Regions from separate parts of the Homo sapiens genome. Here region 2 is linked to region 1. The links are contacts of gene promoters, found by promoter capture Hi-C in blood cells and fetal thymus (Javierre and others, 2016). All regions are on one chromosome and are shown on one strand. Each heading gives the region's core, a stretch centred on a gene start or on the middle of the fragment in contact. The rest is flanking DNA. Distances are from core to core; before and after follow the strand shown. Region 1 holds the start of PPCDC (phosphopantothenoylcysteine decarboxylase). Region 2 has its middle 32 kb from the start of GOLGA6A.

What was found. Contacts are between HindIII fragments. The CHiCAGO score rates a contact against its expected background, and 5 or more counts as called.
Region 2: a contact is called between a fragment that was not itself captured here and the fragment with the promoter of PPCDC in region 1, in 1 of 17 cell types (total CD4 T cells). The highest score is 7.9, in total CD4 T cells.

What each region holds. Positions count from the first base shown.
Region 1 is chr15:75,022,062-75,025,854 of GRCh38, reverse strand. It overlaps PPCDC (phosphopantothenoylcysteine decarboxylase), which reads right to left and starts at 2,265. Exons shown (of 6, transcript NM_021823.5): 1 at 2,229-2,265. The HindIII fragment of the contact is 7,713 bases long and covers 1-3,793 here.
Region 2 is chr15:74,048,325-74,051,893 of GRCh38, reverse strand. No RefSeq gene overlaps it. Among named protein-coding and RNA genes, the nearest start is that of GOLGA6A, 32 kb to the left of the region's middle. RefSeq lists an enhancer at 3,407-3,569. The HindIII fragment of the contact is 4,250 bases long and covers 1-3,569 here.

The DNA of each region.
Region 1 (3,793 bases), core at 1,016-3,515:
AGAATTCCAGGAAGGGTGATGGCTGGCAGGATTCCTTCATTTGCTTGCAAAGAGGATCAAATTCCAAACCAGTAAGTCTATTACTGTAACCAGAACCTGTTGGAGTCACCTATTTGCACAGGTAGCTGTAGTACCTGACTTCCCCGGGCTCTGCTGAATTCACAGGAACTCCTGAGCAGCAAAAAGAGTTGGCAAGTGGGCAGGTTATAGGGCTACACGCTTTGATTACTGAGCCTCAAGATCCCAGGGCACTAGCCAAGCAGGTAAGCCACAGCCAGAAAAATGGCAGCTTCTCTATCCTCCAGAAAGACAGGGACAGACAGAGCAAAGAGCCTCAGCTTGTGATGTTTAAGTCTCCTCTGATGAGTTTAATTCAGGGCAGAGTTTTAGGTTTCAGGGATACCTGCCAGTCCCTATATGGGCAAAGGTGGAGCTGGCACAGAACCAGACTAAAGACAGAGCAAGGAAAGCAAGGCCAGACAGGGTATACGTTCAAGCTCAATACAGGAAGGATGAGAACTGAGCCTAAGACAAAGCAGAACCAAACAAGGGAAGTGGGTGGTGGGTAGGCAGGGATCCAAGATCCATTATGAGCCTGAATCCTTTAGCCTAACATCAAAGCCCCTCACTACCGGCTGCCCAGGCTTCTGCTCCAGCTTACACCTGTAATCCCAGCAATTTAAGAGGGCAAGGTGGGAGGATTGAGCAAACCCAGGTACTCGAGACCAGCCTGGGTAACATAGCAAGACCCCATACAAAAAATTTAAAAGTTAGTGAGGTGTGGTGGCACATGCCTGTGGTCTCAACTACTTGGGAGGCTGAGGCAGGAGGATCGCTTGAGCCTAGAAGGCTGCAGTGAGCCATGTTTGTGCCACTGCACTCCAGCCTGGGTGACAGAGAGAGACCATTTCAAAATATAATAATAGTACCACAAAAAAAAAAAAGTGTGTAGCTATTTACATAGCATTTACACTGTATCAGGTTTTATAAGTAATCTAGAGATTATTTAAATTATATGGAGGGCGTGGTGGCACGTGCCTGCAGTCCCAGCTACCTGGGAGGCTGAGGTGGGAGGATTATCTGAGCCCAGGGAGTTCGAAGATGCAGTGAGCTATGATTGCACCACTACACTCCAGCCTGGGAGACAAGAGTGAGACCCTGACTCAAAAAAAAAAAAAGAAAAGAAAAAAGAGTATACAGGAGGGTGATGTGGTGGCTCACACCTGTAATCCCAGCATTTTGAGAGGCCAAGGAAGGAGGATAGCTTGAGCCAGGAGTTTGAGACCAGCCTGGGCAACATGGTGAGACCCTGTCTCTACAAAAATGAAATAAAATAAAAATTAGCCGGGTATGGTTGTTTATGCCTGTGGTTCCAGCTACACAGGAGGCTGAGGCAGGAGGATCCCTTGAGCCCAGGAGGTCGAGGCTGCAGTGAGCCATGTTCCTGCCACTGCACTCCAGCCTGGGTCACAGAATGAGACCTTGTCTCAAAAAAAAAAAGTATACAGCAATCCCCTGCGGATACTGAGGGATAAATGTATCTAACACACACACTCACACACGTGGGCTACTAGAAAGGCAGTGACTGCGAATTGCTACTTCCCAGCCACTGTGAGAGATGTGGAAACCCCTGCTCCAGGACAACCACCACTTCCCCAACTTGGCAACCTCTCCTGCTCACCATCTAGCACCTGCTTCCAAATACTTCAAGGACAGCAGGAAGTTCTTTTCTGACAAGATTTGGCCTAATTTTTAAATAGCACTCAGCACTTTTTGGCAGGCCTAGGGCTACTTCCAACATCCCATGGCTTTCCTTTTTTAATTTTACCAACTTTTTAAATACACTTTGTACTTTGGGCAGCCCGGGTAAGCGTTCAGTGTGAGGAGCTGACACGGCCATCATTTAAACTAGATTAAACGACACTGGACAAATAATCGCAGAGCAGCACAAAGTCGGGCTGGACGGGTACAGATGCAAACCCTCCACTCAGGGCTCGGGGGTCCCTCCTGCTCCAGGCGGCCCCACCCGTACAGCCGGGAAAGTGAGGTCGCACAGATGGACGGCCGCCTACCCACGCACAGTCGCAAACAGAGCTTCATGGGCACACAGGGGAAAATAAGGACACACACAGACAGCCGTGGACCCACGCTCGCGGACACAGCTCCCCGAACCTCCCCTCCCGCGCCGCCGCGAGAACCCAGCTTCCCAGCCCCCTTCCACTGCTCACCCGCGCCAGGCGCGTCTCGGGGCCGCTCCCAAATATCGCGGTATCTCTGCCGCTCTCCCGCGGAATCTGACTGGCACGCCTCACGAGAGCACCGGGCTGGCTGTATGTCGCGCAGCCTTCTGGGAGCTGTAGTCCACTTCTCTGCCTTCCGGGAGTTGTAGTCCACTGGGGAAATCCTGGAGCAAACCCTGGCCCTGTTCTTTGTATTGCTGGGACTCTCGATAGGGGCTGGCATAACTGTCCGACCTCCTTTCCTCACTCCTATCAGCCCCACACACACTGCTTGTTGCTTGGGGCCTTTTTTTTTTTTTTTTTTTTTTTGCTGTTGTCCCAGGTTTATTGAAAATATTACAGTATCTCAAAAAGATTCAAACAGCTTCCACGTGGCGTTTTGAAATTCATCCCCACTGTTGGCTGAGTGACCTGCAGGTTGGACAGACTGCCAAAGTCCAAAAACATCAGCATTTCCTTAATGTCAGGATATGTTAATACTTCAATGATTTCCTGATCCAGGGCTGAGACCTCAGGAACATGATTATCTCTCCTTTCTCTCTTCTCCTCCTGCAACTTGATGCAGATACCTCTCACTGAGCGCTTCAAATCAGCTTCATCACATGCATGTTGTAGCCTGCTATCTTGTTGGGGAGCTGTTTTTTTTTTTGTTTTTTTTTTTTTTTTTGAGACAGGGTCTGGCTCTGTCACCCAGACTGGAGTGCGCAGTGGTGCTATCTCCACTCACTGCAACCTCCACCTTTTGGGCTTAAGCCATCCTCCTATCTCAGCCTATGGAGTAGCCAGGACTACAGGAGTGCACCATCATGCCAGACTAATGTTTGTATTTTTTGTAGAGACGGGTTCTCACTCTATTGCCCAGGCTGGTCTCAAACTCCTAGGCTCAAACAATCCGCCCACCTTGGCCTCCCAAAGTGCTGGGACTACAGGAGTGAGCCACCACGCTCGGCCCTGGGGAGCATTTTGCTGGAAATAATGGTGATCTCCTTGCACATGTGTTGTTTGTGTGGAAGTTGCTGCCCGGGTGTGTGTATTACTTTTTTATGACGAAGTATAGAAAAGGGCTATCTTCATGGTATTAGTGTGAATGGGGCCCATGTTGGCAGGTCCTTAGTAAAAGAGGGCTCGTGGCACTTAATATTTACCAAGCCTCTTCTATTTTAGGTGCACAGGATACAGAGATAAATCAGATGCGTCCCTGTTCTTGAGACAAACAGGGACACAGAAAATGACAGGGTAAGATCCTCCATGAGGAAGCAACACCTCTAGGCAGGAAAGCCTTCTTGAAGGAGTGACTTGAAATGAATCTTGAAGGACAGCCAGGAGGTTAGATAGAGGATCCCAATAGCGATCCAGGTGGAAGGCATCAAATGGGCAAAGGGAAGGCGGCAGAAGAACACACACTGGCATGCTTCCCTGCCCCCTTCATTTTCTAGCCTTCACAGGCCCCAGGAACCTCTGTATTCATTGAGGTGGCTGAACCAGCTGCGGGTCCCCTGCCCTGAGCTGAGGTGGGGCCTCTGCTCTACCCCCGCCCTTAGCCGCAGTGGACC
Region 2 (3,569 bases), core at 507-3,006, 970 kb after region 1:
AAGTGCAATTTGTCTGATAAACAAAATCTGTCAGAACGTGGGGCTTTGTGGGTCCTGAGTGAAGGTGAACCCATAGTGCTGGATATTTGCTAAGGTGTTCTTTATAAAATCACTCAGGGCCTCAGTGCCTCCACCTTCTTCATGACCCTAGGTCCACTTGCCTCGGCCTCCCAAAGTGCTGGGATTACAGGCATGAGCCACTGCGCCCAGCTGGTTGGTCTGACTTACTGTGCAATCAATCCACCCTGGGGTCGGCCAGGGCTTTAAGGCTCTAGAACTGTAGGAGATAGTCAGTGCTCCTGAATTCCACCCCCAGGCCTTCTGCACTCAGTCTGAGAGGAATGATTTCAGGAAATCAGACAAGCAACACAGGATTTCACAATATCTCATACTTGTCTGACTGGCTAGCATTTTGGAAAATTTCTGCGGTTAGCTAGCTAGCTTTTGTAATGTGCTTGGCTATCAAGTTTGGGATATTTATAATATTTATAAACTGAATTTAGCACAGTCCAGGCAGCTGGTCTTAGTTTAAGGAAGTTCCTTGAGCCAAGAATGAAGGAATTTTCCCCTCACTTGACAGCAAATGCATTTTGTAAGGGTGAACAGAGACGTCCAAACTTCCTGTTTTTTGTTTTTGTTTGTTTGGTTGTTTCATTTTGTTTTTGTTTGTTTGCTTTTAGTATGGGGAGAATCTGTTGAAATTCTAGACTCTTCTCTCAACAGAGTCTCCACAGGTATTTGCTTTATTCAGGTCCAGCGGGTCTGGAGCTGACATCTGGATTCAGAGACAAAAATAAGTGACGGTACTGGCCCCATTCCTCCCCTAGCCCCAGGCTCAGCCTGTGCCTGTGCCTGGGACCAGGACCAAGGCCACTACAGGCGAGTGTGTTCTCAGAAACCTGGATCTCCATTCCCTTCCATCTCCCTCCATCTGGCCCACCTAGTCTCCACCCACATAGAGGTGCAGCCCGCATCCCACCCACTCCTTCCCGTGACCACTTCTTACCTACATTGTAACGGGGTGGGGCCTTACCCTAAATCATGCATTCTCAACAGAGGCATTATCACCCCACAGAGGATGAAAAGGCAGGGGAGGAAGGGCAGTTGACCATCTTGGCTATTACCATGGTTTCTGACCCTCCAAAGGCTCACAGTCCATACATATGTCCATGTAAGGAAGAAGTAAAACCATCTCTATTCGCAGATGATGCGATCTTGTATCTAGAAAATCCTATGGAATGTACAGTGTATCTATGGTATTAAAATTTCATACAGGGAGGCACAATTGGGAAAAGATGCTAAAAATGCTCCTTAAGAGGACAATAATAATAATTATAAAAAGGTCCAGAAACACTGCCCTAAATGAAAAAATTAAAATGAAAGTTCAAGCACAGGGATGAGAAGGTGGGGGTAGCTTCCAGAGACCTGCCTTCTGCATCACCTGAGACTGACAACTCAGGAGAGCACAGAAAGGAGAGAAGGAGAGACCAGGCAGCCTGTCCCCCAACACGTGGCCATGCGCTCCATGATGTAGGCCACAGATGGTGCCAGTCTAGACACAGGCTCCCCGCAGGCAAATCCCAGCTCTGCCACATACAAGTTTAATGACCCTGACGAGGTACTCAGCCTTGCTGCCCTGCTGTGCTCCTCTGTAGGAGGAAGATGGGCTGTAACCACATAGGACAGTTGGGAAGATTAAAGGTTACTTGTGCTAAATGGTGAAATCGTGTCTGGTACCCAGTTGTCTTACCTGGTTGTCCCATGCTCTCCCTCCTGGGCAGGATTGCCCACTCCTCAGTCCCTCCAATCCGATTGGTGTACATTGACCTTGTTGGAGTTGTGAGCTCAGGCAGAGCCCCTGCCAGGTGCTTCTAGAAGAGGATTTGGGGGAAAAGGCAGATTGAACTTGGGGTGCCTATTAGGGGGTCGAGAAGCTCCTGCCCATCTGTTCACAGTTCCATGGACTTTTCAGTTACTAAAGTCACAAAGACTTGTGGCCTGAAGAGTGACTTTAACTCCATTTCTAACTAAATTCCTAACTCACCCCAATTCTAACTCAATTCCTAATTCCTAAGGTTTATTCTCAACCTTAAGCACCAAATGTGCCCCTCCATCTGATCTAATCCCAAATCCTAACCTGGGGCCTCCCCTGAACTTTAGCTCTAACCCTCACCCCGATTCTAAGCCCACCCCATCCTTACCCCAGTTCTAACTTGGGCCCTATCCTTAGCTGTGGAGCTCACCCTAAGTCCACTGGTAACCCAGTATTTCCCCAAATTAACAGGCCATTCACTTCCACAGTCATAAGTTTTCCTCTACCTGTGTCCCTTCCGAGTGTGGAGTTACTTACTATTTGTCCTAAGTGGATCTTTAAAGAATTCCACTTCAGCATCATTCTGAGCAACTAGATCCCAGAAATCACAATTTTTTTTTTTTTTTGAGATGGTGTCTCACTCTGTTGCCCAGGCTGGAGTGCAGTGGCACAATCTCAGCTCACTGCAGCCTCTGCCTCCCGGGTTCAAACAATTCTCCTGCCTCAGCCTCCCGAGTAGCTGGGCCTACAGGTGCACACCACCACACCCGGTTAATTTTTTGTATTTTTAGTAGAGAGAGGGTTTCACTGTGTTAGCCAGGATGATCTTGATCTCCTGACCTCATGATCCACCTGCCTTGGCCTCCCAAAGTGCTGGGATTACAGGCGTGAGCCATCACACCTGGCCAGAAATCAGACTTTCGATGAGCTGGTTGTATTGTTTCTTTTTTTCTTTTTCCTTTTTTTTTTTTTTTTTTTTTGAGACGGAATTTCACTCTTGTCATCTAGGCTGGAGTGCAGTGGCACAATCGCGGCTCACTGCAACCTCCTCTTCCCAGGTTCAAGCAATTCTCCTGCTTCAGAGCTTCCCGAATAGCTGGGATTGCAGGCACGGGCCACCACACCCAGCAAATTTTTGTATTTTTAGTAGAGACAGGTTTCACCATGTTGGCCAGGCTGGTCTCGAACTCCTGACCTCAAGTGAACCACCCGCGTCGGCCTCCCAAAGTGAGTGCTGGGATTACAGGTGTGAGCCACCGCGCATGGCCTGGTTGTATTGTTTCTAACAGATGTTAAACTAAATATAAAAGGTTTAACATTTTAAAAAAATGTTTCTCCACGTGCCTCGTATCTACAGTTATCTCCCATACCACAGGAAGCACGCATAGCACTTTAGAAAGGACTGAGCTGCCTGAGCTTAAACCACCAGCACCACCAGCACTACCGTGGCCCATGCCCGTTGCCAGGCACCGGGTGGCGGGGGGGGGGGGGGGGAGGGGGGGTGCGCTGCAGCGCCCTCTGCTGGCAGAGTCCGGGAGCAGCCCTAGCTCAGCTCCCCTTCTCGCCAGGCAGGGTTCCCTGTGTCCTACCCCCTTTGACTTGACATTTGGTGCATTCCAGCCCGGGTGGTATGCACACTAGCCATGGAGTTTCCTTAATTGTGAGGAGTGAGGAAAGATGAGAAGGGAGCCCCTTACTCTAGGCTTAGGTGCTGGAGGCACCTGGGGTGTGAGGCGGAGACAAGGCTGAGGTCAGA